2 separate regions of the Homo sapiens genome follow, and region 1 is linked to region 2. The links are contacts of gene promoters, found by promoter capture Hi-C in human tissues and cell types (Jung and others, 2019). All regions are on one chromosome and are shown on one strand. The core of a region is centred on a gene start or on the middle of the fragment in contact, and the rest is flanking DNA. Distances in the headings are between cores, read along the strand shown. Region 1 has its middle 110 kb from the start of LINC02370. Region 2 holds the start of STX2 (syntaxin 2).

Region 1 (6,087 bases), core at 778-3,277, 620 kb before region 2:
AGTGAAAAGGCACAGGCAAACAAGAATATGTGACCGTCACAGCGCAGCTGGGCTGACAGTCCTTCAAGTGGCTGGGAGTTCTTGTAAGGGAGGATAATTACATTTTCATTGTGTTAAAAAAGGAGGAAATGTGGAATACACCCACCATCACTGCTTGAATCTCCTGAAATTTCATTTCCTTCTGAAACTGTTGGGAGTCACAGGCAGGCCTGTGGCTGGACTCATGACACCCCCGTGGGTGGGTGGGTGAGAAGGTGCTCGGGGCCCTTCAGTGTGGGGTGAACAAAACCCCCAGACCCTCCACCAGCTTCTATCCAGGACTCAGACCCACAACTGCACATGAGGTGCTGAGCCTCGGGCGCATAACTGAATGCCTCCCCCATAAAGATGTCATTGGCGCGGAAAAAGATGAACCTCATTGAAGAGCGAGTTTCCAGCTCAGCAGCACCTGGGCTTTGTCCAGCCTGGGCCAGGGCGGAAGTGCGTTGAGGTACTTCCCGGCGTGAGTTTGGATTTGGGGACCCGAGGGACCCGTGGAAGGTGAGGAGATTCCGTGTCGGTGTCAGTCCTGGGACCTCCCTGTGCAGAGAGGCTCACGTGTTCCCACGCTCCCTCCTTCAGCGCGGTGGGTACCAGAGCCAGATCCGCAGGGAGGGCAGGGCTGAAGCCACGTGAGACGCCCCAAGCCGGGCGATCCAGCACCCGTCAACGTGAACGCCATTGAAGCCTAATTGTCAGTCATTAAACAGGACAAGACTGCCCAGGATCTCAACTGGATAATTCAAACAATTAGAATAACAAGGGTTTGTTTCGTCCTAACATTACTGAGCCGAAGAACAATATTTGTGGCATTAACTCTGAAAGTGTCTCGTTCTCAGGACTAAGCAGCGCAGCCTGTGACTAGCAAATACTTCACTGGACAAAACCCCACTCTTCCCTGTAGGACGGCCTCAGGGTCCTCGAGGGAGAGCCCACTCTGACCCCATACCCAGGACGTTCATTACGACACATAGGCAGCTTCTTCGGGATATAAAAAACATCACATTTTAATGACATAATCACCTCTCTTCATTATGTCATTAGCAAAAGCACCATAATTACACACTTAGAACCTGAAATCATCAATAGGGGCCCTGTTTTGTAATTTGAACTATAATTTATAATGGTGAACCCTCCACAGTTCCAGGCAACATGCAGAGAAGGTAATTTCTAGATAGATGACAAGCGGTGCCTTCAGCAGCCTGGGTAGTCACACTGTTCGATAGTAAGAAAGAGGTTTGGAGCCCTGGTGGGAAGCTTCAAGTTAAAGAAGCCAAGAAATTAAATAAACGGAAAGTAGATTTGAAATACACACGGCAAACTGGCAATTTGTCTTTGAGTGTTTTAAAATCACAAACAAGACACTCTGGTGTTTTTCAAAGACAAAGGTTGGGATTTCCCCTAACATTTAGAAACAGTTGGGAGCATGTATGTGAACTCATGTGTTGAAACTGCTCTGCATTCATTTAGGACTTTTATCTTCAAGTCACCTTCTGGAGGACTTGGGCGTGTGTTTGGAAACGTCCCTCTGGAGCCGCGTGGGAATCCTTAGGGTTCAGCCGCATAGGCGCTGGGGAGTCTGGAGCAAATAGCACCCACCGGTCTGGGTCCGCTCTTCCTTGCTGAGGGGCGTCTGGAGAAAGGAGGAGCCTACAGGTGGAGGGGGGGAGGTGGGGTCCTGCCTGTGCCTGGGGTCCTGCTGCCTCAGGGTCAGGACCCTGGGAACCCCACCCCGACCCACTGTGTCCTGCTCTGACTTTGCCCTTGGTGGCGGCGGTGGGGGCCGGGGGGGGGTCTCTCCATGGTTCTGCCAGGCTGGGAAATGCCTGCTCCGCATCTAGCTTCCTGCTACCCCCTCACCATCTTGGCTGTCAGCACTGCTCCAAGACCCAAATACTGGGGCTGTGGATGGAGAACCTGGCTGGAGGCAGTCAGGGCTCCGCTGTTCAGGGACTTAAGTAAGGGGACTGAGCTGGCCTGGGGTTGGTCGCACACTCACTGTGGCTGCACATTCCCGTTCTCTGCTTCCAGGGCAAGGAGAGGACCGTGCATCCTCAGTGACAGTGGTGCCTCACCATGCTTTAGAGAAGCCTGTCCTTGCCCCCGAGCTGCTCTCCATGGAGTCCTGTTTGCGCACCGGAGGTCCCTGTGAAGGAGCGTCCATCAGGTCTGGACGTGCACCTGACCTCGCTGACTGAGAACGTGGTGACTAAGGTGACTAATGCTCCATTACTTCTGCGTCTGATACCCAGGTCCATGCAGGCTTCTCTGGCCTCTGTCCTTGGATCCTTAAATTAATCCAAGGATGCAGCAGTTGGGGCCTCACTGGAGAACTCGTGTATTTACCACACAGGAGACTGAGGCAGGGAGTGGGTTACGGAGGGGACGGGAGAGCTGAGAAGTCAGATGGGGGCTGGGAGGCAACTCAGAGGCCAGGAGAGAAGGCGGCGGCTCCATCCCTGGGCTGGAGCGGGGTGGGTGGTGCTGGCGGAGCCCAGGGCTGGGGTCTCTGGGGAAGCTGGACCCACAGCAGCCTCGGTGTGCAGGAACGACGTGCGCAGCAGGCCGGAGGCTGCCTGATTCTGACGCGTGTTCATGGAGGCCCGTGTGCAGCGATGAGCCCCAGCCAGCATCCGGGTGATCCCCAGCCAGCATCCGGGTGATCCCCAGCCAGCATCCGGGTAATCCCCAGCCAGCATCCGGGTGATCCCCAGCCAGCATCCGGGAACTTGGCTTTTGGAACGTTTCCTGAGTGACTGGTTGACCAGGTCGTTTGTGCACTCAGGGAACTAAGCCGTTCCCTACCAGCTGCCTGGACTCTGCAGTGTGATCAGCGCACGCCTGACTTCTGTCACCACAGTGGCTGCACAGGCAGAGGGTGCCTATGTGACCAGCCCCCTGTAGAAGCCCCGCACTCGGAGACCTACACGGCCTCCCTGGGAAGCGACACTCTGGATGTGTTGCTGACTTGGTTGCTGGAGCAAGACGCGTGTTTGGTGGACTCCCCTGGGTCTTTCTCCCCTGCTGATCTTGCTACGTGGCCTTTCTCTGTAATAAGCCATGGAGTCCACTCTCTAATCACGCAGTGTGTGGTGGCCCCAGGACCCCTGAGACGTGGAGCTGGCAGGGAAGACAGGCAGCTGCCCGAGGCGCTTGAGGCAGAGAAGGATGGGGAATAGCCTGGCTCCTCCCCGCCCCCCATCACCCACCAGGGCCTCTCACTGTCTGAGCTCAGCCTGAGGCTAGCTGACCAGGGGTGTGGGAAGCCCAACTCTACAAATTCGCAGCAGATCAGCCCCCAACCCCCACAAATTCCCAGCAGATCAGGAAGGGCGGGGCATGGATGAAAGGGCATCAGGGCCACAGGCCCAGGACAGGCACGTGGGTTGCTCTTGGAGGCATTTGCAGGTACACTAAGAAGCTCCAGGAAGGACACACACACACACATATACACACACATACACATACATATGCACACACATACATACACAGACACACACACACACGTACACAGACACACAGACACACATACACACACACATTCCCCTGCCCTCCCATCTCCAGACCTTGCGGTCCCCATGAGCTTCCCGATTCCTGGCACTGCCGGGCTGTCCTGAAGGCTCTTTTGGCCAGAAATGGGCAGGGATCTGAGAGCACCTGCTGTCGGGTGAGTCCTACTGTACTCATGTCAGAGATTAGGACGAGAAGACACAGGAGTGAGCTGGGCTGGAGTCTCAGCTGCAGATGACAAGGAGAGCACAGTGGAAAGCCTGGCCCACCTCCCCTCCCCACTGGGCCCCTGGGTGGGATACCACCATTTCCAGAATGGGCTGTGGGTTGCGCGGGCTCCTGAGGTTCGCTGAACCGGGGCTCTGAGGGGTCCCCAAAGTGCTTCCTCCCTGTCCTGTGCCCCCACCCCATGGGGTGGAAGAGCCGCCCACAGGCCTGGGTTCCGCCATGCACAAGGGAACTGGACCTTGGTGACTATTCAGGAGGGAGTCTCCGGGCTGCCCTTCCCATGACCACATGTCAATCCCCTTTGGCCCCAAGGGAATTTCTCATAACCCTCCCTTGGAGGAGCCCCCTCGGTGCCAGCCCACCCTCATCACTCTCTCCTGAACCCCCATGAACAGACTCCGTGGCGCCTCCACCTGCCTTTGTCCCGCCAACCCTCCCTGTCCAGAGCAGCCATGGGGCCTCTTACAGTTTTAAGTCTGTCTGCATCACGCGTTTCCTCAGAGTCTCCTCAGGCTGGGTGAGTCCTCGTCCTAATAGGCCCTGACTGCCTGGCGCTGCCTACCTCTCCTGCCTCAGCAGGAGCTGCCCACACCTGTCCTCAGCCAACCAAGCTCCTAACCGTCGGGGATCCTGGGACTCGGGCCTGCCTTTGCTGGACACTTCCGTCAGATTTCTACCTGGCCACGTTCCACTCTTTCTTAAGGATTCTGCTTAAAAGTCACGTCCTCTAAGGCTCCTCGCTGGCCTTCCCCACCACATTGATGTCCAGGTAAGGAGCTCGGGGGTTTAAGGAGCAGATGGAGCTGTGGGGCTGGGCACAGATGTTGAGGCAGGGGTGGGGGCAGGAGCCAGGGAGTGTCAGGCTTTGACCCAGAAAGGAAGGGAGCCATTGGAGGGAGCGTGTGGCCTGGTGACTGTGGTCGGGAGACGTCTCTTCCTTAGGCGATAGTTGCTGTGGGCATGTGAGGAGTGGCTGGGAGCTGCTGCATGGCCGGGCTGTGTATGCCCTGCATGGCCACAAGGGGGGCAGGTGCTCCTGCAGTGGAGCTGCTTGCAGTTCCTGTCCCTGCCGTGTCACATGGGCCTCTGCAGAGTGTGAGAGGGTCCCTTGCAACTCTGTGTGATTTTGTAGTGTCTTCCCCAGGAACACCCTCCCAGTCACATAAACCTCAGGCCCACAAGGCCTGGGCGCCTCTCCTGCTTCCCTATGCCATGTGCCCCGGGGACGAGGGCCCCACCTGCCAGCTTGTGGACTTCAATTCCCATCAGTGCTCACCCTACTGCAGCCCATTCTCACTGCAAATGCTCTTTGTTTTATTTATTTATTTATTTATTTATTTATTTATTTATTTATTTATTTTTGATAATTGGGAAAACTTTTAACTGTGATTCATTACATTAATACCCAATAGATGCATCTGGCAAAATAATTAAATGATAAAAATCACAATAATTTTAATTTTAAAATCAAAATAATTTAAATCAGCTTAGTAAAACCTTTCTCACCTTCCACCTATGCATTTCATCAGTGAGAAAAATCTTGATCTAGTGAAGTTGGGGCAGGGGCAATGTATAAGCCCTCTTACCTCCCCAGGACACAGCATAAGTCTGGAATAGACAGTTCAGGAAGCAGTCTCTTAAACTGCATCGTGATGATGAAGTCCTATATTAAGTAAGATCCCAAAGATGGTTAATAGCAGGCAGGCTAAGAGCTGTAACCTCTAGTCTTTTCCTTATGAAATATTGCTTCCAGTTTAATTGATTTTATTTAGATGGGTTTACACTTAAACACAGATATTCAGGCAGCACTTGTATTTCCCTAGGGACTCTGTTTATAAACATTCAGAGATAGTTATGGATAAAGTTAGAATATCTTTCCCTCTTTTGCTTAATATTTATTAAGGACTTACTATGTGTTATATTCTGTGCTATGTGTTTTACATAAAATACATCATCACAATGACCTTCTTTTGCAGATGAAGAAACAAAAGTTCTGAGAGGTCTTCAGGAACTTGTATATAATTACAGAGGTAATAAGGATTGGTTGGAAATGAAACCAAGGGCTACCTCCTGTCCCCAAAGCTCATGCTCTTAACCCCTTCACCATGAGTTTCTGGTTCTATTCCTAGACTCTAGGCATCATATACTCCTGTTAATACTTTCTGTCTTCAAGCAAGTCCATTTACATTTATATTATAAAAGGTTAAATTGTTCATGAATATAGCTTCTAGATTCAGACCACCTGGATTCAAATTTAGACTCCACATATACTGGCTGTGAGATATTGCCCAGTGTGCATAATCTTGCCAA
Region 2 (5,714 bases), core at 2,123-4,622:
TTGACCCCAAAAACACCTTGACTGCATATGTATGTATGTAATATGAACAAAAATGATAAATTACACATTATTATTTATCAGGGGAAATTCAGCCAGATATTGGGCAAAATTCATCCCCAATATTTCACGTAGGTTATTTTCTATTTCCCCTAAGTGTTGGCCGGTCTGAGAAATAAAGGGACAGAGTACAAAAGAGAGAAATTTTAAAGCTGGGTGTCTGGGGGAGACATCACATGTCGGCAGGTTCCGTGATGCCCCCTGAGCCATAAAACTAGCAAGTTTTTATAAGCGATTTTCAAAAGGGGAGGGAGTGTACAAATAGGGTGTGGGTCACAGAGATCACATGCTTCACAAGGTAATAGAATATCACAAGGTAAATGGAGGCAGGGCGAGATCACAGGACCACAGGACCGGGGAGAAATTAGAATTGCTAATGAAGTTTCGGGCAGGCACTGTCATTGATAACATCTTATCAGGAAACAGGGTTTGAGAGCAGACAACTGGTCTGACCAAAATTTATTAGGCGGGAATTTCCTCGTCCTAATAAGCCTGGGAGGGCTACAGGAGACTGGGGCTTATTTCATCCCTACAGCTGCGATCTGTATATACATATAGCTTGTATGTACTATATGTGTGTATATAGCATGTATACACTATATGTGTGTGTATAGTATGTATATACTATATATTTATAGTGCATGTGTGTATGTGTATATATATATTTTTTTAGACAGGGTCTCACTCTGTTGCCCAGGCTGGAGTGCAGTGGCACAGTCACAGCTCACTTCAGCCTTAACCTCCTGGGCTCAAGCAATCCTCCTGCCTCAGCCTCCTGAGTAGTCTACAGGCACATGCCACCATGCCCAGCCACCCCCAAAGCGGCCATTTCAGAGGCCTACCCTCAGGGATGCTTTCTCTTTCTCAGGGATGTTCCTTGCTGAGAAAAAGAATTCAGCAATATTTCTCCCATTTGCTTTTGAAAGAAGAGAAATACGGCTCTGTTCCGCCTGGCTCACCGGCAGTCAGAGTTTAAGGTTATCTCTCTTGTTCCCTGAACATTGCTGTTATCCTGTTCTTTTTTCTAGGTGCCCAGATTTCATATTGTTCAAACACACATGCTCTACAAACAATTTGTGCAGTTAACAAAATCATCACAGGGTCCTGAGGCGACATACATCCTCCTCAGCTTACGAAGATGATGGGATTAAGAGATTAAAGTAAAGACAGGCCTAGGAAATCACAAGGGTATTGACTGGGGAAGTGATAAGTGTCCATGAAATCTTCACAATTTATGTTCAGAGATTACAGTAAAGACAGGCATAAGAAATTATAAAAGTATTAATTTGGGGAACTAATAAATGTCCATGAAATCTTCATAATTTATGTTCTTCTTCCATGGCTTCAGCCGGTCCCTCCATTCAGGGTCCCTGAATTCCCACAACGATTATTCACAACTTCATTTTTTTTCTCTGGCAGGATAAGGAAAGTTTTGAGGTTGGGCATGGTGGGCTCATGTCTGTGGTCCCTGTGCTTTTGGAGGCTGAGGTGGGAGGATTACTTGAGCCCAGGAGTTCAAGGCGGCAGTGGACTATGACCATGCCACTGCACTCCAGTCTGGGAGACAGAATAAGACTCTGTCTCAAACAAACAAACAAACAAACAAAAAGTTTTGGTTGCCAATTCAACACCATCCAGCTGCTGCCAATATTATCATATGTTTTTGAAAAATCCACTGGGAGAGAGGGAGAAACGAGGGAGGGCCCAGTATTTACCAGAGAGGGAGAATTAAAATGGTGGTGGCAGAGGCAAGAAGGCCGAAAGAAAAGCACTTGCCTGTTGCGGGGTCCAGGAGGCATTCTGGTGGGGAAGTTCAGGATATGGAGAGAAAAAACATATCTTTTTTTTTTTTTTGGAGACGGAGTCTCGCTTTACTGTCCAGGCTGGAGTGCAGTGGTGCGATCTTGGCTCACTGCAAGCTCCACCTCCCGGGTTCAAGCAATTCTCATGCATCAGCCTCCTGAGTAGCTGGGATTACAGGTGCCCGCCACCACACTCACCTGGACAACTGGCTGTCAAGACCTTCCATCGGGTAACAGAACCACATCACACCTAGAACCAAGTCCAAAACGTCCTGTTTTTTAATGTGTAGCCTGTTGCTCTCAAGCAGATTTCTTAGCGCTGCCTTCTGGTCAGACCAAAGCCACCTCCTCCAGGAGGCAGTAAAGACTTTAACCTTGTTTAAAAACAAATCTGGCCTTGCCTTCTCCTCCTGGAAGGCAATCTTTGTTTGCCTGGGAGTCTTCGGCTAGCCAGAGAGTAACAGTGTGATTTATGGTGGGGGCTTAGGGTTACATGGATATCACTTAACCAAGAGGCTGAGATCAAGCATGAAAGCAATCAAACAATCAATCAATCATGCACATGCAATGGAGCCCAGTAAACGTTCTGCACACTGTGGCTCAAGTGAGCTTCCCTGGCTGGCAGTACTTCGTGTGTAAGGCCACACATCAGTGCAGGGCAAGTAATGAGGCCTGACTACACAGGGAGAGGACCACGGGAGGACCTTGAAGCTGCACGCCGTAATCCCCAGACTCCCCCTCTGCCCTTCTTCCTTGGCTGATGTTAATCCGTATCATTTTCCTGCTAAGAAACCATAGTTGTGAGTACAGTAGTTTTTAGTGTATTCTGTGATTCCTTCTAGCAAATTATGGAACTTGAAGGTGGTTTTGGAAACCGCCAGAATTTGCCGTTGGTGTCAGAGGTGATAATGGTCTTGGGGACTGTTCCCCCAACCTGGGTAGTTCACCTAAGCTCCTGCACCTTCATGACGACCTCTCTGCCAGTTCCGTGCCCATGCCCTTACTTTCTTTTCTCATCTATCATTTATTTGTCTGTGTCTGTATTGCCTGTTTCTCCTGCCAGAATGGTATCCCAGGGCTGGGCCTGCGGACGCTCTTCCCGTTACCGCCCCCTGCCGTGTTATGCTCCGTAAGCATCATGTGTGGTACACGATCTCTTCTCCTTCATTCACACCCGAGGCTGCGCGTGGACCCTTAAAGAGAAGGTTCGGCATATGTATTACCCAAAGCTGCACCCAGCACATTCCGGGAGCTTTGCTCTTTTGTCACTATTCGTTGAATGCTCTATATTTTGATAAATAAAACAATGAGTGTGAAAGCATAAAAGCAGATCAAGGGACAAACAGCACGTGTAGCGGAACTGCCAGCCTGGGGCTCGGCCGGACCCCGCCCCTCCCCGCCTAGGCCCCGCCCCCAGGCCCCGCCCCTCCGGGCTCCCGCTGGAAAGCGCTGCCGCCGTGTGGGTGGGTGCGGGGCGCGGCGCGGGCCGGGCATGCGCAGAGCGCGCGGGGCGCGGTTGCCGTGGCAGCGCCGGCTCCAGGGAGGGCTGCTGGCGCCGGGCCGGGACCGCGGGGCCTGAGGCGGAGACCGGAGAGCCCGAGGCCCGGCCGGAGGCAGCTCGGGACAGGCTTGAGCGGCGGGGCGCGCTGCCCGGCCGGCGGGGATGCGGGACCGGCTGCCAGACCTGACGGCGGTGAGCGGCAGCCGCGGGTAGCGGTTCAGGCCCGGCCGGGGCGGCGTCTGGAGGGCGGGCGGGGGCTCGGGGCGTCTTGGGCGGGGCTCCGGGAGGGTCCCCAGGGCGGGGATCTCCGGCGTTCTGGGGCGGGGGCTGCGGGCAGGGTCTCAGGGAGTCCTGAGCGGGGACTGCTGGTGGGGTCCCCAGGGCGGGGGTCCCGGGAGTCCTAGGGTGGGGGCTCCGGGCGGGGTCCCCAGGGCTTCCTGGGCGGAGTCCTCAGGGCGGGTTGGGGCAGGAGGAGGGAGCGGGGAAGGTCCCGGCCTCGACCCCCTCTTCGAGCGTGGCTCCCTGTCCGTCACTCCGCTTGGCGGATTGTATCTGGCGCTTACCCAGCCGGAGCCCACTGGCCTAACTGTGGTCCGCCCCACGGGGTCCCCGCAGCTGGCGTCAGCCCCGGGGAGCAGGCCGGGTCCTCTTGGTCGCTGCTTTATCCCTGGGGCTTCACAAAGGACTGTGCACCAAGCGGGAGGCAACAGATGGGTGTGAAATGTGGGCACCTTAGAGTGCTGGGTGCTTGGGGTGGGGCGAGCGCGAACAGCAGCTTGTGTCTGATCTCCCAGTAGTTTGCTTTGGAAACTGGGACCGTGTGTTGACTCTGAACGCACCTTACGCGCCCAGCAGCCGGGCACACAGCAAGTTACTGTTTACTTTAGCAAGGGAAAAGCAGGTCACTAAAAATTTTGGAAGGATTTCGATGCATTCTACACGTGTAAAGGTGACAGGACTGTGCATGGTGCAGTGACAGCGGAATGATAGTGATGGTCGTGCACTTTCCAAGCTTGTCTAACCCAGGACGGCTTAGGCCAGCAGAAGTAGTTATGACTTTTTCCCTTTACAATACAGGTACTAATTCATGCTACGTGTGTGCACAGATAGAGCCTCTGGTCTCTAAATTGTTGGCAGCCTCAGAACAGGGGTGCTAAGGCCCACAGCCCTACGACACCCACTGCATGTAATGAATTATTCTCTCTCCTCTGCTGCTAGAATGGAGCTGTTATGTACCCCCGAGTGGGAGAATAGAGAAAAGAGCCACTTAAATCATTATCTGTGTTCTGTGGTTCAGATGAGGAGCTCTGGTTGAGAAAGGCAATGATTTCATCCTTAGGATCATGGAAATTATGCTTTATATTCATTCCAAGGAAGTTTCTTCACGGTGATTTTTCCTTTTTTATTAATGGACAAATATTCCCTGTGTTCCGCAGATCAATATCATCTTAAACACAGCAAATTATAGTTGTGTTGTCTTGCCCGATGGATTATCTTTCAGTGCCGTGTAGTAGGAGCTCAGGTATTTATTTAATGAAGAAAAGCTGTGGCTCACTCCTGTAATCCCAGCAGTCTGGGAGATCAGGGTGGGGGCATCACTTGAGCCCAGGTATTGGAGACCAGCTTGGGCAACACAGGGAGACACTGTTTCTCGAAAAAAATTAAAAAATTAGCAGGAGGCCAGTCGCAGTGGCTCATGCCTGTAATCCCAGCACTTTGGGAGGCCGAGTTGGGTGGACCACTTGAGGTCAGGAGTTGGAGACTAGCCTGGCCAACATGGCAAAACCCCGTTTCTACTAAAATAGCCGGATGTCATGGCGCACACCTGTAGTCCCAGCTACTCTGGAGGCTGCGGCAGGAGCATCGCTTGAATCCAGGAGGCGGAGGTTGCAGAAAGCCGAGATTGTGCCACTGTACTCCAGTCTGGGCAACAGAAAGAGACTCTGTTTCAGAAAAACCAACAAAACAAAGCACGCACAAAAAAACTATCCAGGTGTGACTCGCACCTGTAGTCCTTGGTACTCAGGAGGCTAAGCTAGGAGGATTCCTTGAGCCCAGGAGATAGAGGCTGCAGTGAGCCATGATTGTGCCATGCCACTGCACTCCCGCCTGGGTGACAGAGTGAGACATTGTCTCATAAAAAAAAAAAAAAAAAGCTCAATGTCATTGAACGTGAGAGCTGTGACTATTTTGGCAAAATACAGCCAAATTTATATGTTGGGGAATCGTGAGAAAGTACGTTTTCTTGGCTTGAATAGCAAAAAGCAAATAAGGCAATTATTTGTCACTCAGTTTCTATATATCCAAACCCTTCCTGAAACAGTAGAACATGTCAATCAGTTTTGTTCTAGAAC

The links. Contacts are between HindIII fragments. The study calls those that stand out against the background at their distance.
Region 1: a fragment that was not itself captured here is called in contact with the fragment with the promoter of STX2 in region 2 in 1 of the 25 tissues and cell types used here (liver).

What each region holds. Positions count from the first base shown.
Region 1 is chr12:131,453,605-131,459,691 of GRCh38, reverse strand. It overlaps a transcript of LOC101929974 not described here. Among named protein-coding and RNA genes, the nearest start is that of LINC02370, 110 kb to the right of the region's middle. RefSeq lists a silencer at 4,889-4,938 and an enhancer at 4,515-5,020. The HindIII fragment of the contact is 5,120 bases long and covers 1-4,587 here.
Region 2 is chr12:130,836,908-130,842,621 of GRCh38, reverse strand. STX2 (syntaxin 2) reads left to right here and starts at 3,372. Exons shown (of 11, transcript NM_194356.4): 1 at 3,372-3,552. The coding sequence starts at 3,523. RefSeq lists silencers at 3,169-3,678, 3,749-3,808. The HindIII fragment of the contact is 30,414 bases long and covers 1-5,714 here.